Linked DNA regions of Homo sapiens: regions 2, 3, 4, 5 and 6 are each linked to region 1. Evidence: promoter capture Hi-C in 16 types of primary human blood cells and fetal thymus (Javierre and others, 2016). All regions are on one chromosome and are shown on one strand. Each heading gives the region's core, a stretch centred on a gene start or on the middle of the fragment in contact. The rest is flanking DNA. Distances are from core to core; before and after follow the strand shown.

The links. Contacts are between HindIII fragments. The CHiCAGO score rates a contact against its expected background, and 5 or more counts as called.
Region 2: the fragment with the promoter of TXLNA here is called in contact with the fragment with the promoter of MATN1-AS1 in region 1 in 5 of 17 cell types (monocytes, neutrophils, activated CD4 T cells and 2 more); the score reaches 8.2 in monocytes.
Region 3: a contact is called between a fragment that was not itself captured here and the fragment with the promoter of MATN1-AS1 in region 1, in 10 of 17 cell types (megakaryocytes, endothelial precursors, erythroblasts and 7 more). The highest score is 13.1, in megakaryocytes.
Region 4: a fragment that was not itself captured here is called in contact with the fragment with the promoter of MATN1-AS1 in region 1 in 5 of 17 cell types (M2 macrophages, erythroblasts, M0 macrophages and 2 more); the score reaches 8.0 in M2 macrophages.
Region 5: a contact is called between a fragment that was not itself captured here and the fragment with the promoter of MATN1-AS1 in region 1, in 1 of 17 cell types (neutrophils). The highest score is 9.0, in neutrophils.
Region 6: a contact is called between a fragment that was not itself captured here and the fragment with the promoter of MATN1-AS1 in region 1, in 2 of 17 cell types (endothelial precursors and M1 macrophages). The highest score is 11.5, in endothelial precursors.

Annotation. Positions count from the first base shown.
Region 1 is chr1:30,716,867-30,721,461 of GRCh38, forward strand. It overlaps MATN1-AS1 (MATN1 antisense RNA 1), which reads left to right and starts at 1,906. Exons shown (of 4, transcript NR_034182.1): 1 at 1,906-2,699; 2 at 4,422-4,595. MATN1 (matrilin 1) reads right to left here. Exons shown (of 8, transcript NM_002379.3): 2 at 4,539-4,595; 3 at 1,869-2,091; 4 at 1-49. RefSeq lists silencers at 1,129-1,308, 1,349-1,868, 2,429-2,518 and enhancers at 1,929-2,098, 2,196-2,771. The HindIII fragment of the contact is 4,958 bases long and covers 1-3,630 here.
Region 2 is chr1:32,177,441-32,182,035 of GRCh38, forward strand. It overlaps TXLNA (taxilin alpha), which reads left to right and starts at 2,235. Exons shown (of 11, transcript NM_175852.4): 1 at 2,235-2,336; 2 at 2,874-3,074; 3 at 3,802-4,137. The coding sequence starts at 2,906. RefSeq lists enhancers at 1,413-2,172, 2,173-2,931, 2,819-2,898, 3,019-3,178, 3,189-3,238 and silencers at 2,109-2,298, 2,439-2,618. The HindIII fragment of the contact is 3,390 bases long and covers 1-2,785 here.
Region 3 is chr1:29,266,369-29,270,963 of GRCh38, forward strand. The region is part of intron 7 of PTPRU (protein tyrosine phosphatase receptor type U); the gene reads left to right. Among named protein-coding and RNA genes, the nearest start is that of PTPRU, 32 kb to the left of the region's middle. The HindIII fragment of the contact is 6,519 bases long and covers 1-4,595 here.
Region 4 is chr1:29,327,067-29,331,661 of GRCh38, forward strand. It overlaps LINC01756 (long intergenic non-protein coding RNA 1756), which reads right to left. Exons shown (of 3, transcript NR_110758.1): 3 at 2,554-4,126. Among named protein-coding and RNA genes, the nearest start is that of LINC01756, 21 kb to the right of the region's middle. The HindIII fragment of the contact is 1,557 bases long and covers 1,010-2,566 here.
Region 5 is chr1:31,788,072-31,792,666 of GRCh38, forward strand. SPOCD1 (SPOC domain containing 1) reads right to left here. Exons shown (of 16, transcript NM_144569.7): 15 at 4,144-4,330; 16 at 2,351-3,220. The coding sequence ends at 2,532. Among named protein-coding and RNA genes, the nearest start is that of SPOCD1, 26 kb to the right of the region's middle. RefSeq lists an enhancer at 91-866 and silencers at 652-701, 1,032-1,321. The HindIII fragment of the contact is 2,297 bases long and covers 1,647-3,943 here.
Region 6 is chr1:29,709,239-29,713,833 of GRCh38, forward strand. No RefSeq gene overlaps it. Among named protein-coding and RNA genes, the nearest start is that of LINC01648, 330 kb to the right of the region's middle. RefSeq lists enhancers at 1-244, 1-1,154, 245-838, 724-823. The HindIII fragment of the contact is 3,602 bases long and covers 736-4,337 here.

The DNA.
Region 1 (4,595 bases), core at 656-3,155:
CACACCTGCTCACAGTCATGGTCCCCTGTGGCGCACAGGTCTGACACCACTGCGGGGACAATAAGTAGCTCAGATCTCACAGTCATAGTGCCTTGGGCACTACAGACAGGTTGTCCCTCCCTGACTGTGGATACCAGGCCCCATCCAGACTCAGGGAAACTAAGATCTCCAACATACTGGGGCCCAGGCCCCCGACTCTCAGCCCACGTCTGGAATCATTGCACCAGTGCCTAGATCCCTGAAGAAGGTTATAATGCTGATGATAAGAATGAAAAGTCTCACTAAAAAGGTAAAGGCCAAGGGTTAGGGCCTTTAGTCTGTTTAGTTCACTGCTGTATCAAGACACCCAAGTGTCTAGAACAGCATACAATGAACACAGCACCTATCTGTCAAATACCATATAATGAGGGTTACATTTTGCATTATCTCACTGGATCCTCTCAATAACGTGCATGCTCTTCTTAGACCCATTTTACAAATGGGTAAAGTCCCTGCCCTAACCCTGATCCTGTCCTACTGGACACCCTGCCCCTGCGGGTCACATCCCAAAGACCCACACACACACCTCCCCTCCGAGAAGGGCTCTGAACCTTCTCCTGCCAGTGCCCAGGCCTCTCAGACTCTCCCGCATCACAGAAAACTCTGGCACCCAAAACTCACGACACAGAAACATGTGTAGGTTTTCTGGGAGCTCTCCTTCCTGAGCTCTGGGCCCTCCTTGGTCCCTGCCAGGATTCTGCCACATAAAAGGGCTCTGTTGTTTTTTGTGTGTGCGGTTTTTTTTTTTGTTTTGTTTTTTTTTTGAGACGGAGTCGTCTCGCTCTGTCGCCCAGGCTGGAGTGCAGTGGCACGATCTCGGCTCACTGCAAGCTCCGCTTCCCGGGTTCACGCCGTTTTCCTGGCGCAGCCTCCCGAGTAGCTGGGACTACAGGCGCCCGCAACAACGCCCGGCTAATTTTTTGTATTTTTAGTAGAGACCGGTTTCACCATGTTGGCCAGGATGGTCTCGATCTCCTGACTTCGTGATCCGCCCGCCTCGGCCTCTCAAAGTGCTGGGATTACAGGCGTGAGCCACCGCGCCCGGCCATAAAAGGACTCTTAACATCGCCTCTCCCCAACTCCCTTAACCTGGGGCTGGAGACCCTCCTCCGTTATCAGGCTCCGCCCCAGCTACGGCCCCACCCCTGGTGCTGGCACCACCTCAGTCTAATCCAGGTTCCACCCCCAATCCACCTAAGCCGTGTCCCTAGCCCTGGCCCCGCCCTGATGTTGCCGTGTAACTCAGTTCCCGCCGTTTTATAGGCTACCGCCCCAGCCAGGCCCCGCCCTCTGATGTGGCCCCGCCCCCCGACGCTGACTTTTTCTGTCTTCACTTTAGCGCTGGCTCCGCCCCTAGCCTTGGCCCGCCTCAGCGCGGACTCTCAGTCTCTGCGCCTGCCACGGCCTCGTCCCGCTCAGCCCTGGCCCTGCCCCTGGAGCCGACTCTCTCCGCCTCCGCCCCGGTCCCGCCCTGGCACTGACTGTCTCCGTCTTCGCCCCTGCCCTGGCCCCGCCCCCTGCCTGCTCTGGCCCCGCCCCGCCGCTCTCTCCGTCTCCGCCCCTGCCCTGGCCCCACCCTTGCCCCGCCCCGGCGCTGACTCTCTCCGTCTCCGCCTCCGCCCCCGGCTCCTCCCCGGCCCCGCCCCGGCACTGACATTCTATCTCTCTCCCGTCTCCGCCTCTGCCCCCCCCCCGGCCCCGCCCCTGCCCTGCGCCGGCGCTGGCTCCGTCTGCGCCTCAGCCTCGGTCCCGCCTCCAGCCCTGGCCCCGCCCCGCCGCTCTCCCCTTCTCCGCCCCTGCCCTGGCTCCGCCCCCGCCTGCCCGCGCACCGCAGAAGGCCTCCTGGAACTTCCTGGACAGCTTCTCGATGACGCTGTAGCTCTCCACGTAATCGACGTGTTCGTCCTGCGGCTCGCTGGCGATCTGCCGCAGCGTGGCCTTGTCCACGCTGCCCACTCCGATGGCGAACAGCTCGACGCCGCTGGCCCGGGCCCGCGCAGACACGTCCTGCACGCTGTCCTGGGGCCTCCCGTCTGTCACCACGATGACCACCTGCGACACGCGGGGCGGTGTGACACCGGGCTCCCGGAAGCCCACGGGACTGTCCAGGAGAGGAGGCTGAGGCCCGGAGAGGCGGGAGGACTGCCGGGTCGCACAGCCAGGCGGCACCCGGGGGAAGAGGACCCGGCTGGCCGAAGAGGAGACCCGTTTCCTCTGACTGAGAGACGTGGCTGGGGGGCTTTCCATCTGCTTCGCCTCCCTCGGGCAGGCAGCTCTGAGATGCCCGGAGGGATGTGATGCCCCATCGCCAAATTGGGGTCTCTAAGGTCAGGGCCATGCCTTCCCCTCAGACTGAGGCGGCTGAGGGCAGGGTCCTCAGGCTGATGGCTGTGGGAGTCGTGCCACGCCCCTCGTGCCCCCGGGAGGCCCGGCCGGGGCTGGGTGGGGGGATCCGGTGGTTCCACATGGTGCAGTTCTGCGCTTTGGCCACCAGATGGCAGCCGAAGCTAAGGGATGGGGCTGCCGTCTCCCGTCTTGCTGTCCTTGTCCCGGTAAGACCGGGGACCCTGGACCAGGGAACCGACGGAGGGCCACTCCCATGTGGATGCCCAAGGGACCAACCCAAGAAAGATGCCGCCCTTATCCTCCTCCACTCCCCGGTATGATACATGCCCCTGCCAGAGAGGGAAAGAATCTGCCTGCTCCCCTCCCACTAGGCTCCTCTGGTCTGTACCCTGGAAAGAAAGAGGTGGCGGACTCTGTCACTGAGATCCGGCTTCGTGACCCCCTGTCTGCACCCGCCCTGAGGCTAGGGCGCTCCCAGCTCTGCCCAGTCTGGGTTAGGCATCCAGTCCCGCTTTGCTGCTTCTCTGCTTCTGACTTGGGTCTGTTTCTGATTCCTGGGTCCCATCCTTAGCCCCAGGTCCTGACACCCTGTCCTGATGACAGGCAGTTGAGACAGGCCGTGTTTAGAAATGCAGCTCCACAAGCTACAGGTCACCTTCCTGAGCCTCAGTGTCTTCAACTGTAAAAAGGGTTGTGGTGAGGTTGAGTGAGATGACTCCTGGTTAGAAGCCAGAAGGGGCAACTATTATTTTTACCATCATTACCCTGGGCTACCTGGGGAGTGACTTTGTACAATCTCTTCCTCTCCAGGGGCCTGGGCTCCTGGCTCTGAAAATCTAGCTGTGACTATTCGCTGCCATCCCGAGGCCCACTGCCTCCTCGAGTCCCTACTCCCCTCCCTGCAACCCAGCTTTCAGATTGTCCACCTTGCTGGGTCCTCCCACAGGTGAACTCCAGGCTGAACACCTGGAGTCTGGTGCCAGCTCCCCCAGCGCCGCTGTGTCACCTGCTGGAGGAGCTCTCTCCTCACTTGCCCACCCCACGCCACCACCCCCATCTCCTTCACCCTCTCCACCACCTCAACCATCAGCTTCATCTACAGCACCCCGTGCTGAAACTTGTAGTTGGCCCCAAGACCGACAGGCTGCCTGATACGTCATTTCTCTAAGGGGTGGTAATGGCTGGGATTATATGCTGTTGTCTCTGTGAATGCTTTTCCCACTTATTGGCTGAGCAAGTTGCTTAAGCTTCTTATGCCTCAGTTTCACCATCTGTAAAATGGGGATACCACCTCCGAGCAGAATCATGTTCATTTATCCACTGTGTGCTAGAGAGTGGGGTATGGAGGAGGGATAAGAAAGAACCTCCCCTGAGCTGGGGCCCTGAGCAGGGAAGTGGCGACTCGGGCTAACGAAGGCTGCAGTGGGGAAGTGCTGGAGCCTGTGGGGGTGCCACAGGAACAGAGGACACCTGGCTTAGCCTCAGGTTCTGTGCTGAGCCCTGAACATGACAGTGAGGATACAAGTCCTGGGAAACGCTCAGCCCTCTGCCTGGAGCCCTCACTGACAGCACAGGTGGCAGCACAGCCCTTCCATTTCTGAGCCCCTGCCCTCGGAGAATTATGAAATTAAAAATTATCAAATGCCATGATGGGAAGCCTTATGCTTTTGAACTCAGTCCTCAGCAGCACTTGGAGAAGGTGTTATCATTACTCCCATTTTACAGGTGAGGAAACCGAGCACCAGTGACATGACGTCACTTGCTCGGGGTGGCACAGCTAGTATGGTGGAGCAGGGCGTGAACCCAGGCAGGCTGGTGGCGGAGGCCACACCTTCACTCCTCCCATAAGCATCTGGCCTGTCTGCAATGTCTTCAAGGGGCTCAGACTGGTCGGGAACCAAGGTCAACTAAACTGAAATGATTGTAAGCTCCTAGGATGGAAAGGTTGGGTAAAGGTGGCTTCAAATCCCAGCTCTGTCACTTGCAACTGGTGACCTCTGTCTAATGACCGCCCCTCTCTGACCCTGTTTCCCCAGCTATGAAATGGCCACCTCACGGGGCATCATGGGAATCAAAGTGTCTGCAGGCAAAGCTCATAACTCCGAGCGGGAGCCTCCAAACAGCAGCATCCTAGCAGGGTGGCGTGCACGTACCTTGCTGATGTCAGGGGACCTGGAACGACCACCCTCTGCATCGCCGAAGGCTTTGGT
Region 2 (4,595 bases), core at 985-3,484, 1.5 Mb after region 1:
TTTTAAATCAAATGTCTGTCTTGAAAAAGACTGTCCTGAAGTCTCCATTTTTAAAAAGAGGCCAAGCACTGTGGCTCATGCCTGTAATCCCAACCCTTTGGGAGGCCAAGGTAGGAGGATCACTTGAGGCCAGGAGTTCAAGACCAGCCTGGGCAGCAAAGTGAGATCTGTCTCTACAAAAAAATTTAAAAGTTAGCTGGCTGTGGTGGCACATACCTGTAATCCTAGCTACTTGGGAGGCTGGGGCAAGGGGATCACTTGAGTCCAGGTGGTCGAGTCTGCAGTGAGCTATTATGATCACTGCACTCCAGCCCCAGCAGCTGAGTAAAACCTGTCTAAAAAACAAAAATACAATCTGGCCCTACCCGGCCTGAGTTTCTGCTTGCTAACAATGTGCAAGAGCTGCTGTATTTTACTGCAATCACCACCTCTCCCTCACTCTGGCAGGTGCTAATATTGTTGCTATATATTGTTTATAGCAAAGGAGAAAGTAACTTGTTAACCTATGTTTCTGTCAATTATTCTTGCCTGTTCTCATTACCCAACTGGCCCCTCTAGGCTATTGTTGACCCTTCTACTACATCCTCTATCCCTCACCCCATGCATACATTTTTATGTTCTTTATCTCACCTAGAACACCCTTGTTATATGGAAATCTATCAAGGCCTGATTTATATGGTGCCTTCTCAAGAGATTTCCAGAATGCTTTTCTAGAAATAATCAGGGCCTTGGTTTCAGGACATCTAGATTCCAACCTTTCTGAGCCTCAGTTCCATCATTATACTAAAAATTGAATATCTCTTATCCAACATGCTTGGGACCAGAAGTGTTTCCAATTTGGGATTTTCTCAAATTTTACCGGTTGAGCTTCCCCAATCTGAAAATCTGAAATCCAACATGCACGGCTCTGAAGTCTTTCACTGAGCCTTTGGGGGAAATATTTAACATCCTAACAGCCCTAAACCAACGCTCAATTAGCACAACAGTTTACAATCTTCTCTACCCACAGCCTGATGCGAGGCTCTGGGACTAGACTATTTAGCCAACAGTTCTTGCAAAATTAACTGACTTATAAGTAAATAGTAATTTCAACACCTCACTGCTAATGCTGTAACAACTCTGCAGACCTAGGGAGCAAGTACGGTTTGCAGAGCACTGGGAAGGCTCTGAAGTGACCTTTGAACTGGGCCTCAAAAAATTTTGGGTTTGGCAAAAGTCAAATCTCTTAGGCTTCAAATTCCAGGCACAAGGATTGTTGGGTTTGATTTCATTATCCAGAAGCAATGGGGATACAGAATTGTGATCTCATGTGTAGGGAACTGTGGGGGTTTTTTCTACTTTAACCCCAGTGAGACTTTGTAGAGTGTGGGGTAGAGAAAAGGCTCATGAATATGCCTGAAGCCTAACTCAGCACCTTTCTGAGGAACTGACTGCCAAAATGGTAATGGAGAGGGGAAAATATGACCTACTTTCACAAGTTACCTTGACTGCCTCAGGGAAACCTGCTGTGGTAGTGTTTCTTCTGGGTGAAAGACCAGGTAATTACCTGGGTGCTGGTCTCAGACTTACCAGTTTTGAATCCCTGTTTTAACCACTCACTATCGATATGACCTTGGATAAGTTACCTAACCTTTCTCTTACTGTCCTTTTCCGTAAAATGGGGATAACAGATAGTAGTTATTTCTATGAGTGGTTATGAGAACCAAGCTATTAGATAGCGGGAAAGCACACAGTAAGCGTTCAAGGAACTGCTATTGTTATTAAAAGCCTCCTTTGGAAGAAGGACATTGAGGCCCAGAGAGAGAACAGAACGTCCAGCCACACAGCAAATCCGTGATGAAGTTGGGACTGGAGTATGGGTCTCCTGAGTCTCAGCCCAGGACTCTATCCCTCTTCCCGAGTCCTCGGAGTTCCCGGATGGAGTCACATTTGTTCACGGCCAGGGAGGAAGGTTTGATGGAGGCCTGCAGGAAACAACAGCCAGGCGCAAGGCTTTGGGAGTTGAAGCATAGCTTCTGCGAGATAGAAACAAGGTTGACATGGGCACTCGTGCAGAATGACGGGCTCCTTTTGGACTCCCAGGACTACAGTCCCTTATGCACCTTGGGATCTGCGGCTAGCCCCTGCGTAAAGAGGGACGCGTAGTCTTTTCCCTGCCCCGCCCTGCCGGGGCGCCCGCCTCCGAGGCCGCCCTCGCTTCGTCCTTCCCAGCAAGCTCCGCGCCGGCGCCGGCTATTGATTGGCTGAGGCGGGAGCAGGCGGCTGGCCGGCAGCAGTTACTCGGGGTTTCCGGTGCGAGGCCAGAGGTGGGGAAGCCATCGGACGTCGGCGGTGAGGTACGTGCAGCGGCGGCCGGTGGGCGAGACTATTTGAGAGTGTGCGGGCCGGGATGTTCTCGGCCTGTGGGGAAATCACGCCAACTCCCCGCGTGGGCCGGGGGCTGTCTGGGGATATGCGCATGCGCGGGCGTGCCTCGCGGCTTGAGGGCGCGCGGGGCGTGGGTGGCTGCGCGCGCGGGGGGCGCACGTGGGGCCTGAGGGGCGGGGGCGGTGCCGGGAGTCCCGCCACGTCAGTCTCCGGCCCTGAGCCAATCCCGCGCCCGGCCTGCCGCGAGGGGGCCGGTTGTGCCGGGAAGTGGCTCCAGGGAGAAGAGGCCTCTTCCCTCACCCGCTGTGGGAGCTGCGCCCCGAAAGCCTGCCCCGGCACGTCGGGCTCTCCTGACCCGCCAAGACCAGAGAGCCGTTGGCGCCCTCCGCCCGGGCCTGCCGGTCCGTTTATTTTAAGAAGCTTTGTGCGCCTGCTGTGGGGATTTCTGATCCAGGCTGCGAAGAATTTCGAAGTCTGGAAAATAGCAACTGTGTTTGTTTCTAAAGGATCTTCTCCTGACCCAGCATCGCTCATCACAATGAAGAACCAAGACAAAAAGAACGGGGCTGCCAAACAATCCAATCCAAAAAGCAGCCCAGGACAACCGGAAGCAGGACCCGAGGGAGCCCAGGAGCGGCCCAGCCAGGCGGCTCCTGCAGTAGAAGCAGAAGGTCCCGGCAGCAGCCAGGCTCCTCGGAAGCCGGAGGGTGTGTGCCAGCTCTGCGTTGCCAGCGGGCAGGGGGAGGAGCTGTGGGGTCGGCCTCGCTTCTGGACTTACAGGCCGAGGCCAGGTTGTCCGGGAGGAGGAGATGTAGAATGAGAGGACAGTGCTGGGGGCCGCGGTCCCCCCTGCGCTCTGGCGAGTTGGCGGAGCTGCCCCCTCTAAGCACAGGAACAGAGTTCTGGAGAGAAGCTCCGACGGGATTAAGTCAGGTGGCAGCCAAACGAGGCACCCAGTCAGGAAATCCAGGTCCCGTTAGAAACACCTCAGCCACCAGCAGCTAACTGCCCTTCCTGTTTGAGGCATTTCTAGAATGATCTGAATGGCAAGAAATGGTTTTGTGGGGGGGAAGGAGATGGACTAGAAGTTGCTCCGTGCCATCCCTGTGTGCTGATGCTTTACATACTTTTATGATCTAACAAATATGTTCGGGTGGTAGTGAGAAATAGTTGTGTCATTTTACAAGTAAACAGACTTAAAGAAGTTAGGCAACGATTACTATAATTTCTTGATTTAAAAGATGTTTCGAATCTAAATTCTGACAGGAACTAGATTTGCTGAATGATACTCCATTCTTGCTTCTCAGTTTCCATAAAAAAAAAAGTTAGGCAACATTTAACTCAAACTGATGAGTTTGGCTGGGCCTGAAAAATCCCAACCAGTGGTATAATCGTCTTCTTTCTCACTCTACCCCTCATCCTCTCCTGCTGTAGGGGCTCAAGCCAGAACGGCTCAGTCTGGGGCCCTTCGTGATGTCTCTGAGGAGCTGAGCCGCCAACTGGAAGACATACTGAGCACATACTGTGTGGACAATAACCAGGGGGGCCCCGGCGAGGATGGGGCACAGGGTGAGCCGGCTGAACCCGAAGATGCAGAGAAGTCCCGGACCTATGTGGCAAGGAATGGGGAGCCTGAACCAACTCCAGTAGTCAATGGAGAGAAGGAACCCTCCAAGGGGGATCCAAACACAGAAGAGATCCGGCAGAGTGACGAGGTCGGAGACCGAGACCATCGAAGGCCACAGGAGAAGAAAAAAGCCAAGGGTTTGGGTGAGCAGAGGGCGGCTCTTTGTGAAGCTGGTGAGGAGAGGGAGTTTGGACTTGACGTTCTCTGGGCCAGTCTGTTCTGCCAGGATTCAAAGGAAAACGGTACTTCTCAGAGCAGCAAGTCACTCTAGTCTAATCAAAGCCAGGGATGTGGGGGCCACGGCATAGAGAGATGCAGGAGTTACCAGCACAAAGCCTTCTGGGTTTTGGAGCAACTGGAGCTTGGCATGGGACCTGTTCTCTCTTTGAGAAAATGGAGACGGGAGGCTAGGGTAGGCTCCTGTGCCAGCCAGTACTACCTGCTGTGTGACCTTGGGTGTGTCCCTTCTCCTCTCTGGGTCTTAGTTTATATTTCTCTTTACAGTAAGAAAATTAGACTAGGCCAGAGTTGAAAACCCAAATATCTGCATAAGCTGGGCTGGCCATGGGGCCACCTGAAGATGGAGGCTTTACTGCTTCCT
Region 3 (4,595 bases), core at 692-3,191, 1.5 Mb before region 1:
GTGTGAGGTTTAGGTCAATGTTATTTGTTGCTAATCAATATTCGTAAGTGTTTTAAAAAGCCAATCTGTGAATTATCTAAAATCCAGTTTAAAGCCACACTTTGGGAACTCCTTGGATGGTAGGTCTAAAATCTGGTTTAATGTCACACTTTGGGAGACCCTTGAGTGGTGGGTCAGAATGTTCCAGTGGGAATTGCTTTCTAGTGAAGGGGTCTGGGTCAGGTTACTTAACCTTTCTGAGCTTCAGTCCCCCTGTTTTACAACATGGGAATAATAACATTTACCATATAGGGTTAGTTTGAAGATTTATTCAACGAATGCTTATTGAGTGTCTATTACGTGCGAGGTGCTATTGTGGTTGGTAGGGATATATGACTATAACCAGGACAGACAAAGGCCACCAACATGTGAGTTCTTCCTGGAACTCACATTTTGGCAAGAGGAGATAGATAATAGATGAGTAAACAAGTGAAGTATACAGTTGGCCTTTGAACATCACAGGTTTGAATTGGGCAGATCCACTTACATAGATTTTTTTTTCACTCACACGTGCATCAAAAATACGGTATTTGCGGGCTGGGCATGGTGGGTTATACCTTTTATCCCAGTGCTTTGGGAGGCTGAGATGGGAGGAATGCTTGAGGCAAGGAGTTTGAGACCAGCCTGGACAACATAGCAAAACCCTGTCTCTACAACACAACAGCAACAATAATTAGCTGAATGTGGTGGCATGTGCCTGTAGTCACAGCTATTCAGGAGGCTGAGGCAGGAGGATTGCTGGAGCCCAGGAGATCAAGGCTGCAGTGAGCTAAGATTTCACACTGCACTCCAGCCTGGATGACAGATCAAGATCTTATCTAGAGACAAACAAACCAGCAATACAAAAAACTCCAGTGTTTCTAGGGCCTGTATATATGAAGGGCCAACTATGGGACTTGAATATGTGTGAATTCGGTTATATGTAGGGGTCCTAGAACCAATCCCTGGCATATACCGAGGGAGGACTTTATGGCCTGTCAGATGGTGATAAGTGCCGTGAAGAAGAAAAGCAGGGAGTGGGGCCTGGAGGGTTGTTATTTTTAAAAGTCTCAAGGGAAGGTGACATTTGAGCAGAGATCTGAAGGAGGTGAGGGACTGAGCCGTGCAGAGAGCTGGGGGCTTGCTGGGGGAAGCAAGCACCAGCCCGACTGAGCAGCCAGCACAAAGGCCTGGAGGCTGGAGAATGCTTGGCACGTGCAAGGGGCATCCAGGAGACCAGTGTCACTGTGTTAGTGACTGAGTGGGAGATGGCAGGAGAAGAGGCTGAAGTTGAGCTGCAGATGTGGGACTTAGAGCCGTTGTACACAGAGAGAGCTGGGGAGCCACTGAAGAGTTTAGAGAGCAGGAGTGAGCATCATCTACTTTTGTTTAAAAGGATCACTCTGGCCCTTTTGTGGAGAATGTTCTCCAGGAGGGCAAAGGTGCCGCAGAGACCAGGGAGGAGGCTACTGCAATGATCTGCTTAAGAGGTGGTGATGGCTGGGAGCCGAGTGGAAGTGGTGGTGGTGGGGAGAAGTGGTCAGATTCTGGGTTTATTTTAAAGGCAGAGCTAACTGCATTTGCTGATGGATTGAATATGGGATGAGAGAAAGGGAAATAGAAGTCAAGGATGGCTCCAAGGTGTTTTGCTAGAGCAGCAGGAATGATGGAGCTGTCATTTCCTGGAGCGGACTGTGGTGGCAGCTGATTTGACGTGGGTGTCATAGATCAGGAGTTCTGTGTTGGAAATGTTGACTTCGAGATCCCTATTAGACATTCAAGTGGAGATATTCATCAGCAGATGGATACATGAGTGTGGAGTTCAGGGAAGGGGTTCGGGCTGCAGATAGAAATTTGAAAGTCATCAGTGTGGAGATGGTATAGATGGCATTTAAAGCCCTGAGGTTGGATGAGATCTTTTACGCTAATGGTTCTCAACTAGGGGCAATTTTGTCTCCTAGGAGACATTTGACAGTGACTGAGGACATAACCGTTGTCACAACTGGGTGGCGGCAATGGGGTGTTACTGGCATCTAAAGGGATAGAGGCCAGGGAAGCTGCTAAACATCCTACAATGCACAGACAGCCACATAAGAAAGAATTATCTAGTCTAAAATGTTCATAGTGCTGAGGTTGAGAATCCCCGATTCAGTCCTTAGATTTTTAGGGAATAAATGTAGATGGAAGAAAGAGGAGTTGGAAAGCCTGAACCTTGGAGCCTCCAGTGTTTTGGGTTAAATGCAGACAATTGCAGGGAAATGCATTAAATGCATGTGAAGTATAGCGCTTAACACACAGTAAGCACCCAGTAAATGATGGTGTTTTTAATCTTTCAAAGGCAGTTCTGGTTTGCCACTTAGGATAAAAGGAATCATAGCACAGGGTTCCGCAGAGGATCTCTATTGCACTCCCCTTAGTGTACAGATGGGGAAGCTGAAACCCAGAGAGGGGAAGAGACTTGGCTGTGATCAGACAGTGGGTCAAGAACCCAGGTTTCATGATGACGGCTGTTGATTATTCCCATTTTACAGATGAATAAACTCAGATTTAGAGATTTAGCCACTTGTACAAATCTACACAGTGAGTCCATGGCAGAGCTTGAATCAAAATTTGAATCTCTTGATTTCTCATCCAGTGTTTTGTTTTAGTTTTTTGTTTTATTTTGTTTTTAGAGACAGGGTCTCACTCTGTCACCTGGGCTGGAGTGCAGTGGCACGATCATAGCTCACTGCGTGCAGCCTTGAACTCCTGGGCTCAAGTGATCCTCTTGCTTCAGCCTCCTAAGCAGCTGGGGCTACAGGCTTGCACCACCATGCCCAGCTAATTTATATACATATATATATATATATATATATATATATTTTTTTTTTTTTTTTTTTTTTTTTTTTTGTAGAGACAGGGTTTCACTCTGTTGCTCAGGCTGATCTTAAACTCCTGGCTTCAAGGGATCCTCCTGTTTCAGCCTCCCAAAGTGCTGGGATTACAGACAGGAGCCAGTGCATCCAGCCTAATCCAGTGTTTTTAACAGCAGCAGCAGCAGCTGCTGCTGCCACCATCATGGGCTGAATGCCCACTTTGTGCTGGGCACTGTGAAACAGTTTTCATAGGCTGGCCAGGACGGAAGCTGGGGCAGGGGCCTGGCAGACAGGGTGCAAACACCTCCCCCTGCCCTTCTGAATTACACGGTTCTCTTTGTTGACATCATGGCCCCTCCCTGCTTAGGCGCGTTGGCCGGCAGTTGTTTTGCTGTTGGCCAGCTGTGTTGTCATCTCCTCCATCCCCATGAAACTCCCCTCGCACTATATTATTTACTGTAAAAACAATAATATAGCATCAGGCGAAGGCATTTTTTAAAATAAGCACTCCGAAGCTCATCATCCTAGCCCAACAGCTGTTTTAATTTTTCTGACTTCTTCACATCTCTGCCCATATGCCTGCAGTAGACATTTTTACACCCTTGCATTGGGATGTAGAAAGCATTTCGTATGCTGCTTCATTTGCTTGGTGTTGTTACGTGTGTTATGTTGTTTATAATTATGTTTACTGACTCTAGAAGTCCATTGAATGTCCCCATTTAGCTGGACTGTTTGCCTCCAGACTTCTATAATGATAAATAATACTATATTGAGAAACCTAGCGCTTGTAGTTCTTCCCTTCTCCCCCCACCCTGAGTTATTTCTTTAGGATAAAGTGTCAGGAGTGGTTGAAGAAAGGGCTTTTAAATATATTGCTTTAAAAAATGGTTGTGCCAATTTATACTGCTACTGGCATCTCATGTTAATGCACACATGTTTATTAATTACTATAGACTGGTAATGACTGTAGGCTGGTAATGACTGTAGGCTGGGCAATTTGACTCATATTATCTCATGTAACTCTCACATTTGCTCTTTAAAGTAGGCATCATAATCTCCATTTGTTTGTTTTTGTTTCTTTTTTTGACAGAGCCTCACTCTGTCACCCAGGCTGGAGTGCAGTGGCATGATCTTGGCTCACCGCTTCCTCTACCTCCCGGGCTGAAGCTATTCACCCACCTCAGCCTCCCAAGTAGCTGGGACTACAGGCGCGCACCACCATGCCTGGCTAATTTTTATATTTTTGTAGAGATGAGGTCTCACTACTATGTTGCCCATGAAGGTCTCGAACCCCTGAGCGATCCTGCCTTGGCTTCCCAAAATGCTGAGATTACAGGCATGAGCTACTGCACCCAGCCATAATCTCCATTTTTTAGTGGAGGAACCTGACATCAACATTCAAAGGGGGTTAAGTAACTTGCCTGAAGCCACAGAACTATGGCCAGGTGCAGTGGCTCATGCCTGTAATCCCAGAACTTTGGGAGGCTGAGGCAGGTGGATCACTTCAGCTCAGGAGATTGAGACCAGACTGGGGCAACATGGTGAAACCCTGTCTCTACAAAAAACACAAAACAAATTAACCAGGTGCATGGTGGCACATGCCTGTGGTCCCAGCTACTCAGGAAGGTGAGGTGGGAGGATTGAGACTGCAGTGAGCCAATGATAGCACCACTGCACTCCAGCCTGGGTGACAGTGAGACTGTGTCTCAAAAAAACAAACAC
Region 4 (4,595 bases), core at 538-3,037, 1.4 Mb before region 1:
AGGGCCACAGAGCTGCCTCTCACTCCACTGGGGGCCCTGGATCAGGTTCAGCTCTTTCTGGGGCAGCATGGGAGGCTCAGGCTTTGGTGTCAGGCAGATGGGCCCAGCAGCTGCGAGACCCTGGGCAAGTTAGTGCCCTCTCTGGGGCCTACTTTATCATCTGTAAAGTGGGGACAGTCCTGTTTGGATCAGATGAGGTAATGATTAAGTGCCTTATGTAGTGCCAAGCGTGTTGAAAGGGCTTACTTTACAAACATCGCAGAGATGGGGGCAGAGGAGACACAGCCCTGCTGGGGATGACCGTCCCATTGCCCCAGCCCAGCCCATTCCCAGCCCCAGCCGCCTCCATGGGGTAGAGAGGGAGGAGGAGCAGGCTGGCTGGTAGGGACCTGGGTCACTCCTGACTCTGTCACAGGCTTGCTGCCTGACCTTGGACAAGACAATTCCTGTTTCTGGAACTCAGTTTCTTCATATGAAGGCTGACTCTATGATGTACTCATTCTGTTTGCACACTGGCTGACCCTCTGTGCCTCAGTTTCTCCATTGGTCAGAGGATACAACCCATTCTAATGACCTCACAATTCAGCATACTTTAATCTGAGTTAAAAATTAATTGGCCAGTTAGGATCACACTTGGATAGGGCACAGACTGACCCCCTCATCCTCATTCTGAGCTGACCTCTGAGCCTTACGCGATGCATCACAAATGTGTGTCACGGGTACTGGCCAAGCGATAGAATATGACTTGCTTTGGCCAATAGCATGGGCAGAAGTGATGGCGTGTGAGTTCTGGATCCCAGGTCTCATGAGGCCTTGCAGTTTTTGCTTTTGCTCTTCTGGAACTCTGCTATACAAGGGAAGCTGTCTCACCTACCGGATGATTTGAGGGCACACAGAGGAGAACCAGCGCGTGCCATGAACAGTCAGTAGCAACTCCCAGGCTGTGAGTGAGGCTGTCTTGAACCTTCCAGTCTAGCTGACCTGTCAGGTAAGTGTAGCCACATGGCTAAGCTTAGAAGACACTGCCCAACCAACCCCTAGAACTGGGAGAGATGATAAATGGTTTTTTTTTTTGAAGACAGTCTGTTGAAATCACTTGTTACATACACAGTTAGTTTTTGCTAACTGATACACACGCGTGCGGAGCAGTCTGGATGCGGCTCGGCCCTTTGCTCTGTTCGGTGCTGGCTCCTCAAGGGCAGGGAGTATTTCTGTGCCATCTTGTGTCCATTGCCCAGTAAGGGGCTTGTCATGGAGCTAGTGCCCTGGAAATGTTGGCACGAGGGAGGGAAGGAAGGAGAGGTTGGACTTGCCTGCCCGACTGACCAGGGGCCTTGTGTGGCCTCTCAGAGAAGCTGGGGAGGTGGGCTCTGTATTAGGAGGAGCACCAGCTCCAGAACCCATAGTCCCGCCCCCAGCTCCACAACCCACAGTCGGGTGACCTTGCACAATCCCCTAACAACCCTGCAATAAACATAACAGGACCTACCTGCAGGATTGGTTGTGAGGTCTAGGGACAAAATATTTAAAAGGAACCAGCATACTCCCTGGTGACATAATTGACCCTCAATAAAGGGCATCTCACGCCATAATACTGAAGCCCCTGGATAATGAAAATGGTGACGATCACCTTTCATCTAGTGCCTATTCCTGTGTTATGTGTCCTACACCCTTTGGCTCTTCCTTACTCCATACAGCAGCTCTTTAAAGGGGGGATTCCTACCCCTCCATTTTAGAGACAAGACATGGAGGCTCAGGGAAGTGAGTTTACTCACCCAAGGTCACCTGGCCACTATATGGCAGAGCAGGGACTTGAACCCATGTTTAGGCTGACTCCAACACCTGGGCCTTTAACTGCTCTGCTCTGTGGCCTCCCTGGCCCAAAAGCCTAAGGATCCCCTCGGTGTAATACCAGATGGGGAATTTGTGGCCTAAGCACTGCTTTTCAAATGCTGTGAAATGTGTCAGAGGTGGCGGCCTCTCAGACAAGGTGGCGGCCTCTCAGACAAGGTGGCCAGGAGCACAGGAAGATGAATGGTCCAGCCGGGTTCTGTCCAGGGCCTCTGGCTGAGCAAGTGTGGGTAGAAACCTCCACCCACCCAGGCCCCAGCAAATAAGATTTCTACAAGTGCAGCTAGGCCAGCTGCCTGTTACTGCCAGAAGCTAAGTTGTTTCTTTATACCATAATAAATCTGGCTGTAGGAGTCAGCGAAAGCAATGATTACTTCACACAACCTCTCTCAGCCCCTGATTGAGATGCATTATATATCCCAGGCACCCAGGAGATGGAGCCGTGACATTGATGGATGCCAAGGCCACTTGCAAGGCCCTCATTGGGAGCAGGGCCTGGCCAATCTCTCTCCCTGGGCTCCATGGACCTCCCCCTGCCCCGGTGACCTCTGATGGACAGGAGCTTAATGAGCTTTGGCCTCAACATCCCCATGGCTAAGGGCAGTGCAGAAATAATGGAGTCATTGCATAGGCAGGATCAACAGGTTCAAGTCAGGCAATGAATGGCCAGCAGGTAGAGGATGAGGGCTTTGGACGTGGGGATGTAAGAAAGCAAAGCTTTATTCGGCACTGAAATGCACATTGCTCAGTGCTCTCTGTAGACTGTCATATGTCAGTCTCCAGTTCCACCTGTGAGGTAGGTACTATGATCATCGCCATTTTACAGATGAGGAGACTGAGGCTTAGAGAGCTTAAGCAACTTGCCCCAGGTCAGAGAGCCAACAAGGTCACACAAACAACAGCAACCAGTGTGATCGTTTGAAAAAACAGGCCAGATCCCATCACTCACCTGCTCAAACCCTCCAGTGCCTCCTGCTGCTGTGTGCATGAGCACTGTGCTCCTGACCATGACCTCTGAGGCCCACCTGTCCTGGCTCTACCCTGTCTGTCCACGTCCCTCCTGCACGCTCCTGCGCACTCCAGGCTCTTCTTCCCCCATCATTCTGAGCTCTTTGCATGGACACCCTTCTCCGGTCCTGCATACCTGGCTCTTGCCTGGTGTCCAGTTCCCAGATCAGATGTCCCCTTCCTGAGATGCCCTCCCTGAATGCCCTGAGTGGCCCTCCAGCACCCACTGTCCCTGTGTCTTTCAGGGCCCATCCTGTGTCTGTGCCTTGCTGCTTTCTCACAGTGGGTGATGAGCTTGTTCATTCACTGGGTATTTCTTCTCACCAGACTGAGCAGCGAGAGGCCAGGGCCATGTAGGTCTTGTCCTCCTGTGTCTGTTGCACTGGGCATGGTGCCTGGCACATGACAAGAACTCAACGAGTATTTGTTGAATGAATGAAAGTTGCAGAGCTGGGACTGGAGCTCAGGTCTGTCTGGCTCCAAAGCCTATACTCTTAAGCACATAATTTTTAGTCCTTGGATGACCACATGGCTTGAAGTCATGAGGCTGGGTTCCAATGCTGGCTCAGCTACCACCATGCTGTGTGGCATTGAGCAAACATCTGGGGCTCAGTCTCCTGATTTGTCCATGAGGAGGCAGAGCTAGGTGCTTTCTAGGAGCTCATTCTAAGTAGGACAGCATCAGGTTCAACATCCCTCAGACAATGGGGCTGACATTGCTCAGTGGGGTCCAGGCCATTGGCCTAAGCATCGGGTGTCTGAGGCTGGTGGCTTTACACTGACTTTAGTCTGATGGGCCTGCACCCCCACCCTGGCTGGTCCTGGTGATCACAATAGTGACTGCTGTGCATTGTCCCTAATACAGACTGTTCCTAATCTCCCCAGCATCCTGAGAGGTGGGTATCACCAAGCCCATTTAGCAGGCAAGAAAGCTGAAGCTCAGAGAAATGAGGGCAGAGCTCTCAATGTCACAGCTAGAAAAGATTCAGTCTCTGGACTAGAACTTGGGACTGACTCCAAAGCCGGTGCTCATGCAAACAACAGCCAGTCTATGCCTGCACCACACCAGCTGCTTGAGGCTGCTCTCAACCCTCAGCCAGGCTGCTCTCCCAACCCTGCCCTAGCTGGGCTCATCTCCACTGTGCCTCACCATCAACAGCCTCTCCAGGTCCAGGGCCGGCTTGAAACACTGCCTGATCATCCTAGTCTGCTGCATTCTCACCGTGAGGGTGGCCTGAGTCAGCGGGAGCGCAGGAGCTGAGAACGCCTTTCAAGAAAAAGGAAACTCGTCTAAGCTCACCTCCTACTCTCTCCCTGGGATGGGAAGAGGGACCCTGACCAGAAATGTCATTTTCTGCTCATTTCAAAGTGAATAATGTGGCTGTCTTGGGCTGTGTTTAATCTCTTAATGCATCCCTGTTTGAAGAGCAATGGGCTCAACATCCCTCAGAGACAATGGGGCTGGCATTGCTCATTAGTGCCCAGGCCACTGGCCTAAGCATCTGCTTTCTGAGCCTGATGAAATCTTGGGTGTAGTCTGAGCTTTGGTCTGATGGACCTCTGTACCTACTTTGGCAGGTCCTTGCATTATACCTAATGTGGACATTGTCCCTAATCTTCCCAGAAATCCTGAGAGACAGATGTTACCAAAACAATTTGATATATGAGGAAAGAGGCTCAGAGAGCTGAGGTGAATTGCTTAAGGCTACACAGCTAGAAAAGAGCCAAGACAGAAT
Region 5 (4,595 bases), core at 1,545-4,044, 1.1 Mb after region 1:
TTCAATAAGGGGACGTGGGGAAAGGGAACTGATGGTCACTGTCACAGCTCACTCATCCACCCCACATCTGAGAACATGGACAGGCTAAACACTCACGCATGCGCAGCCCACATGCCTATCAGACGGGATGAGGAAGAAGCAAAGAGAACCGTCCAGGGATAGTTGCCCAAACAAGTTCCGGCCCCGCCTCTATGTTAATGACATGCAGATATATGTAAATTTGTACAAGCAACCGCTCAAACCTTTGGGAGCAATGGGGTGACACAGGAGCAGTTGCTATGGAAATCCAAAAGCGATACCCGCTCTGCACCCCCACCCCCCTCACAGGCAGGCGCACAGACACGTGCACAAAGACGCAGGGTTCTTCACTCCGGAGCCAAGAGGATCACGGAGTGGCAGAGTGTGAACCGGAAGGACCCTCAGAAACTGCGTCCAGCCGGGGGAAGCTCAGGCCCGAAGAAAGTCACCGGGAGAGCAGTGTCGCGATCCCTGGTAGCCTGGGGCGCCTTCCACTAAAACCCAGGGCGCGAGGTGTCCCTTCCGGGTCCCGGGCGATTCCGGCTCCGGCCTAGCAACAACAAGCCCCGCCCAGCGTTGCATAGCAACGTCCCTGGAGCCTAGCAACCGTCAGTCACGCCCCCTAGCAACGTCATGCCTAATCCTCGCTCCAGGCTTCTGCCGAGAGAGAGAGGGGCAAGGGGCTCGTGGACTGGGGCCAAAAGGTGGCGGGGGTGGGGGAGGGTGTCATGTTTAGCAGGCTGCAGGATTTCGGGGCCCACCTACAGCCCTTCCACGGGCGAGCTGTTACAGAGCCGCGTTATCACCCCCATTTACAGAAGGGAAAACTGAAGCTCCCAAAGGAAATCCCTGCCCAGGGTACAGAGCTCGCTCTTGCCTGCGTGTTCCAGGAGAGCGGCTCTGGCGGCTCTCCGGAGGAAGCCCTGGACCTGGAGGGGAGGGAGTGCACACCCGTTTCCCTCCATACCAACTGCATTAGGAAAACCACCCAAACTGTGGGCTCAGAACCAAGCTGTAGGTTTGCATAGTAATTTGCGTCATTTGCATAGAGCGCGGAGGCTGCGGCGCTCCCAGGCCATTTCGAGCCGGAAAAGTTCCCGAAGGAGCCCCGCTCCCTCTCCCGGTTCAACTGTCCAGCCCCCTCTCCCTACCCCTCACCCGCACCCCACCCGCATCCTACCCCGCCCCCGCTTCCAACTCCTTGCGCTAAGTTCCCGCACCTCGCCCCACCCCCCGCTTTGACTCCGGTCCTGCCAGCCCCGACCTCCATCCCAAGGCCGAGGGCCCCCTCTGCTGTCGTCCGCGGGTAGGGCAGCCGCAGAGCTCATGGGGCAGAGAAGAAGGGCTCCCCCAACCGACCATCGCCCCACCCCTTCCAGTCCAGCAGGGGCCAGGGTGAGGCCTGTACATGGGTGGACTTTGCGAAGGGGTGAGCAAAGAGCGGGTAGGGCCCTTCTGGCCCCGGGGCGAAGGGTGGGGTTCTAGAGAGGTTCTCTCCTGGAAGCCAGGCCCCTTTCCCCACGCTGGGTTGGTTGGCCCTGGCAGCTGGTTCCCCCATCAGTCCGCAGATGCAGCTCTCTCGAGGTACACCCCACATGAAACGCTTGACAGTTGCAGTTGCTGTTAGAAGCTTGTTCTAGGCCCAAGGCAAGGCAGCACCGTCCAACCCTAATACCAGTCTCCAACCCCACCCTGAATGCCCACCACCAAGGCTAAGACCTTTGACATTTTCTAACACCAGTCTCTGGAATCTGGCAAGAGATACAGAGAGGAGTCACCCAATCTGGATCTCCTGACTTCCTCAACAGAGACCTACACACAGGCAGGCCATGAAACTCACACAGATACTCTCACATGCTTGCAGGCACACTAGTGCACAGAGATCCCTGAGAAGCACATAGACAGAGACTCGGAGGGAATATGGTGAAGGTATGTACTATCCTTCCCCATCTAGTCAAAGGAAAAAAAAATCTTAGTATTAACTGAAAAATTTAAAGTCCACTGCAACTTGCTTATCTTTTCCTCTCTAGCAATCTCTTGATGTCTGATGTCTGTGACCCTCCAAAAGGCTCTGTCCATTTCTCTCTCCACCCCCAACCTCGGTCCTACTTTCTTTCCCACCACCACCTCTTCCTCCTGGTTCAGAATACTTGCAAAATGCTTCCAGAAACCACCGTGGCAATAGCTGTGCCCTGGGGCGCAGTGATGGTTCAGGACCTCAGACCAGCAATGAGCAAGGCTGCACATTTGTGCACAAGACACTCACTGACACACCCACTCAACCCACATCTGACCAGGACCAGGGGCTCTCCTGACCAGCTAGCAGATGCAATCCCAATTTTACCAAATTCTTTATTGAACAAAAAATCAACAGCAAACATTGTCAAACAGGAAGTTCAAACAGGGCAGGTGGGTAGGGCTGACCATCCTCTCCTTGCAGTCCCACCTCTCTCTGGAACAGGCTTCAACACTAGTGAGGGCATCAAAACCCCTGTTCTGGTGGGTAAGGAGGGTCAGGCCTTTCTAGGGAAGGGACACTCAGAGCCAGCTTCATCTGTAGGCCCCAAAGAGGAGTCACGGGCTGGGCCAGGGGGCTCTGGAGCTGCAAGGGCGCTAGACAAACGCTGCAGAGGGCGGGGGATGGAGCTCTTGGTCTGGGGGCACAGTAAGGCTTGGAGCTGGTGACTCATGGTCGCCAGGGATTCGAGGTGCCGGAGCAGGGCTTGGTGGGGACAGGAGTCCCTGTGGAAGTGCTGGCCACGGCCAAAGCCATGACCAGCTGGTGCTACTGAATAGGGATGCTGGGACTGGCGCAAGCCTGGCTCTGGGGGCCACTGCCCTCGCCCAGGATGCTGCCAGTTTTCAGGCTCTGGCCAGAGCCTCCCCCTGCCTCTGGGGGGCCTCTGCCAAGCAGAGATTCCCCTTGGAGCTATACTGCCCCTGCCCTGGCTCTGCTGCCAGGCACCTCCTGGGGGAGGGGTGCCCTTCAGGGGCACATTCGGCCTCCTGTCATCTGGCTGATAGTATCTCTTCTCCACCTTACTGTTGAAGGAGACCATCTTTTGAACCTTCCCCAACCAGGGGCTGGACCCTGCTGTGTCTGGAAGCCCTTCCTTGGGGAGCAGCACAGCCAGCAACAGACTTGAGTGAGTGACCTCCAGACCTGGGGAAAGGAGAGGGGAGACAGGAAGAGCCCAAAGGCCTGCGGGGAAGAACTGTGTTCAGCTTAGCTGCAGCAGATCTGGAGCCTACATCCCAGGAAGGGCTTCTTCACAGTGAGATGGGGCCCATGAGATGCTGGGAAAAGTAAGTAGGAAGGTGGGGCTGTCTCGGAAGATTTGAGCTCTGCGGGATCAAGGCTTATCTGGCTGAGGCTGGGGTATGGATTGTTTGACCTGAAGACTCTACAGACTCAAAGTCTACCTCATTGTCTCAGGACATGGAGCCCCAAAAGGCCAAGCGCTTTGCTCAGGAGTGGGCAAAGCGCCCACTGCCAACCTCGCTGCTTTCCTGAGCCACGCCGTGGAGGGTGTCCATGCACAGAGGCCGAGCTCGGCCCCCCGTGGCTGTGGCGAAACATCCCTCCCTCCTCTCTGAGGTGACATTTACAGTCAAGTGTGTGTAGGTCCTGACTCTGTCCTGCTGCCTGGGTCAAATGTGGCTGTCCCTGGAGTTTCTCTTCAGGGGTGCCTACCTTGAGAGGCAGTGTGGTGTGGTGGTTAGGGGCCAGGTTTCTGAAGCCATGTTGTGCTTCACACAACGTGTGAACAGAGTGAAGCCCAGTTCTGCTGTTGACTGACTGTGTGACTTTGGACAAGTCATTTGCCTTCTTCCTCCCTCAGATTCTTCTTCTATGAGATGGACAGTCTAGTCTAATAGTACCATTCTCATAGGGTGATGAGACTACAAGAATTCATCTAGGTAAAGCTTTTAGAACAATGGCTGGCATGCAGTTCATGATATCCAAGCGTGAGCTATTACTGTCATTGTACTCACATTTGCCTGGCTGGGTGAGGAGTTCCCTTCTGAGATGTGCCTGCCTCTACTGGGTGACTGTGTCAACCGTGCCTGGTCTGGTCACCAAGTGAGCAGAGGCAGGGTCTGGTATGGGGACTAGGCACTCACCTGGGCCCCCCAAAGGGCGCAGCCTGGTGGGCAGGGGCTGGAAGGCAGGCAGGGGCAGCAGGACCATCCCCATGTGCTCCACAGAGGCCAGCCCGTGGCGCTGCCTATCATTGAGGTATGAGTAGAGCAGGCGGCAGTTCTGGGTGTCCCGGGCCCCATGTGGGCACAGTCTGACCACGCAGACGTCCTGCGGTGGCAGGAGGAGAGCAGCTGTAAGCGCAGTCATCCTCTGCTCCTGCCAACACCCCTGGGCTCCCTGAAACCCCTGAGAACCCCGTGAGAAAGTATGTCTCCATCTTCCAGAGGAGGAAACAGAGGGACCTGTCCAGGGTCACACAGTGAGTCTGCAGTCACTCTGGGAACTAGACCCAGATATCCAAGCCAGGCCTCTGCTCTAGAAGTGGAGAGGGAGGTGGGAGTAAGGTACTAGGAAAAGAGGGGGTGCCCAAGAG
Region 6 (4,595 bases), core at 1,287-3,786, 1.0 Mb before region 1:
CCCAGGAAGGGGTGCCCGGGGCTATTGCAAAGCAGGCTGGGAAATGGGGGCAGGCCCTGTCACCGATGTCCTCATTAGCACTCACGTTGATGTTATTTGTGGAGCCCCTGTTCTTGGCCAGATGCTGTGGGTCGTTCTTTTACATCTTCCTTCAAAACTGCCTGGGCAGTGTTTATTTCCTCATTTTGCAGACGAGGGCCCTGAGGCTCACAGCTTGGTCCATCCCTCCACATTCCCAGATTCTGTTCCCTCCTCTGTGGTGACCTTGCTGAGTCACTGTGGGTGAGTCCCCTTCCCTCTCTGGGTTGGAGAGAATGAACCTCAAGGCCCCGTCTAGGCCCAGCACTGGTGGGGGCTGTGCCAGGTAGCATGGTCGGCAGGGCCCCTTCACCCCACATGTAGGCAGCTGGCAGACCTAGTGAAGCTCATCTTCCATTTCCTCCTCTCCTATGATTTGCTGTTGTGGTCCTTGGAGAAGCCCCCGAGTAAATATTAATAATGTACCTTTGTGTACGTTGGCTGAGGGAGAAAATGAATCATTTCCTGCTTCCCTCCTGGGCTCAGAATCTTAACTAAAACTATGCTGGATCTTTCAGCAACTGGGATGGGCCTGTTGGAGGGGGCCGAGGCAGAGCCACGAAACAGCTGCCTCCCCTGGCTGCCCGGATGCTGAAATTTCACCTTTCAAAAGCTGTGCCTGGATTTCCCAATATCACAAAGAGCATGGGTACCAAAAGCTTAGGTTCAAGTCTTTGCTTGCCCCAGCATGCCCCAACTGTGTGGCTATAGTGACTCTTTGAATCTCAGCACAGCCTAAGATGTGTGCCCCATCCGGTAGGGTAAGCTAGCTGCTTTCACGTGGTGAGCTCATTCCATGGCCCTCCTGCTGTCTGAGCAGTTCTTAGGTGCCAGTTTCTGCATGGAAGGCGATCATGAAACATAGGAAGGAAAACACAAATCACACTCCAGCTTGCAGAAGGGACACCGCAAAGGGAGACAGGTGGAGCCATTAGCCAGTGCTCAGGCACTAGTTTGCTGTTTGCAGAGCTCTTTTTCCACTTGATTTTTCATTTGATCTTGAAAAGGAGCCTGGGGGCTGCCCCATTCTACAGACAAGAAAACTGGAACTTGTCAAGGGACTTGAGTAAGGGCTCATTACTAGTGAAGGGAGAAAGGAGATTTAGTCTAGAACTATTTCCAAACCTCATGCTCCTGTCCTCACCGGGCTGCCAGGCAAGGCTGAAGGGAGGTGGCTCAGGAAGAACATGCTCAAGGAGGAAACTTTTGAGCTGGTTTTTGGAAGAAAAGAAGGAACACGATGGAATGGGGAGGGAAAGTCTGGGGGTGGGGAAGCCTCTACAGGTGCAGTCAGCGCATCGAGTCAGGCCTACCTTCTCCACCACCCTCCCCAGACACCCTGGAACACACTTTTCTGCCCCTGCAGAGGCCTTGCCTTCTGCTAGCACTTGGAACTCCAGCCTCTCTCTTCTTGCCCATACTACATTGACTCTATGAAGCCAACTAAGTGGATTTCTGTGCCCCCTTCCACTTGAACCAGTTACCTGCAGAAGCTGGCTCCATCTTCTTCCTCCCCACTGCCATCATTTCTTGCCTACTACAGTCTGATTTCTGTCTTGTCAAGGTTACAAATACCCTTCCTATGCCTCCTCCTTGTGGACATGTCTCTGTCCTTGTGGCCTTTGGCTTCTCAGCGGCATTTGACCCCAGAGATCACTTCTTCCCTCTGGAAACACCATCTCACCTAGGTATCTGTGACTCAATTCTAGTTGGCTGGTTTCTTTTCTACTTCATAGGCTAAGGACCAATAAGGATAAATTCTAGAACTCTCTGTAATTCAAAGATGTCCAGCAGGTATAATAGGCTGCCTCAGGAGGAAGAGGGGAGAAAGGAGGAAGAGGGACTGCTCATATGGTGAGCACTTACTATGTGCCAAGCCCTGTACAAGGCGGTTTAGGTCCCATTGCCTTGTGGGGTAAGAATGTTCATCCCTTTTTTTTTTTTTTTTTTTTTTTTTGAGACGGAGTCTCGCTCTGTCCGCCAGGCTGGAGTGCAGTGGCGCAATCTCGGCTCACTGCAAGCTCCGCTTCCCGGGTTCACGCCATTCTCCTGCCTCAGCCTCCCGAGTAGCTGGGACTACAGGCGCCCGCCACCGCGCCCGGCTAATTTTTTGTATTTTTAGTAGAGACGGGGTTTCACCTTGTTAGCCAGGATGGTCTCGATCTCCTGACCTCATGATCCACCCGCCTCGGCCTCCCAAAGTGCTGGGATTACAGGTGTGAGCCACCGCGCCCGGCCTGTTCATCCCTTTTTTGAGATTGTAAAGCAGAGTCTCAGAACATATGAGGGATGACCCATGGCCACACAGCTAGTAATGGAGGAATGCTGGACTTAAATCTCAATAGTAATTGTTACCGTTTATTAACACCTATGGGTGCCAGGCCCTGAGCATGTTCTATGAGCTGAGCCATCTGGTTCTCACCACAACCCAGACGTGGCTGTCATTCATAGTGCTATGAAATGCAAGGACGTTGTGCCCCAGAAGGTAAAAGATTTACCCAAGTCCTCTCAGGAAGTAGGTGGAGGGGCTGGGTCTGGAGTCTGGGTCTGTCTGAGACCCCAGCCATATTCTTTACCTCCCCTGTTCTTGCAGGGAGCTAAGCATGAGATGACCCTTGAGAGGGTCACTGCTTCAGAAGCCCACTCAGGACTTCATGGCATGGGACCTAAAGACAGAGAAGGTTCTTCCCTGCCCCAAGATTCCAGGAGGCTCCCCCATAGACATTGTTCCTGTAAGTGCCTGTGTTGGCAGCGACTTCCTGTGGTCTCTGAATCATTGTGTTCAGGCTTCATCACAATCAGTTTCTGCAAAAACAGTCATTTCTGCCGTGAAATCTATTCAGCGTGGCCAGCGGGGCAGGAACAGAAGAGAAAGGCCAAGTGGGGTCAATGTGGTGTTTTATGTGGTATTGACCCAGCTTGTCTGTGCAGAGGATGCAGGGAGGGGGACCTGGTGGGAGGGATTAGGTGGCATGTGTTGAGCACCTACTATGTACTGGGCACTGTGCTGGCTTGCTGGCTCTTGGCTTGCTGTAACTCATTTAATATTCAATGAAACAACTCAATGAGAGGAGAACCCGTTTTTGTTTGTTTTAACAAAAGAGGAAACAAGTTCAGAGAAGTTAAGCAACTTGTCCAAGTTCATATAGCCGCTAAGTCGTGGATCAAAGATTCATGCCCAGCACTTCCTGATGTCAAAACTTACGCTCTTCCTAGTTCACTGAAATGAAAGAAGGAGAGAAGAAACCTTTATTGTGAACACTTATTGAGCCCTTTCTAAGAGTCTGGGACTTTGCTTGATAATTCTATTCCAATGTTATACACACTAGGATTCATTACTTGTGTCACCATTTTACAGATGAGGAAACCGAGGCTTGGAGAGGGGACTTGATTGCCTGGGGTCTCATAGCCTGTAAACAGTAGAACCAAGGACTCTGACCCACAGATCATCATCCTTTCCAACATTTTGGGGAGAGAGGAAGAGCCTCATCAGATCACAGTCATCAAGGTGGAGGCTGTAATCTGTGCTAAGAAGGAGGGGTGGGTGAATGGGAAGGCAGTGGCCACTAAAGAGTCATGATTCCTTGAAAGGTGTCACCCTCCTCCTAGGGCCTGGTGGCTGAGGCTGCTCCTGGGTGTCCACTTGCAGTGTGCTGTCACTGGCTGAGGGTGATCACGGGGGCCCTCAACCCCCGTGTGAGCCCACAGCCTTGCCTCTCCGCCAGAGTGTGGCAGGCAGCTGTGGGATGCAGAGGATGTGCCGAAGGAAGCGTCGCATATGGCAGATGGGGAGGAAGGCCTGGGATATAAAACGAGGTCTTGATAGGAAATGAAGGGGAGAGGAGGTGCCCAGGTTTTCAGGGTCCAGGGGTAGTGAAGGGTCCTGGGAGTATGCAGAGCACCATGGGAAGGGGTCCTCAAATACCAAGCCAGAATGACTGCCCTGGAGCCCTCTGGGTCTTGGTGCAGGAGTCATGAGTGTTGATGTAAATGTGGGTCCTGGTAAATGTTTTCTGGAAGCCACTTGAGACAGTGTCTGGGGAACTAGGTGCAGAATCGAGAGAACGAGCAAGGGGCAAGGTGTGAGTCTGACTTTCCTCCTAACCTGCTGTGCAACCTCAGGGAGCTCACACAGCCTCTCTGAGCTTTAGTTTCCCTCTCCAAGTAAAGGATGAGAGTTAAAATCTAGGAGACCTGGCTAGTCTGAGAGTTCTGGATTGTTCAATGTTGTGTCTCCATCATAGTCTTGTGGTTCTAGAAGCTTTAGGACATACATCTTTTGTCATATATATTAGTAAAAATTATTAATTATAGTAAAATACATGTAATGAAATATACCATCTTAACCTTTTTTAAATGTACAGTTCAGTAGTATTAAGAACACTCATGTTGTTATACAGCCATCACCACCACCATCTCCAGAATTTTTCATCTTCCCAAACTGAAACTCTGTACCCATTAAACACTAACTCCCCATTCTCTGCTCCCCCAAGACCTTGGCAACCACCATTCTTCTC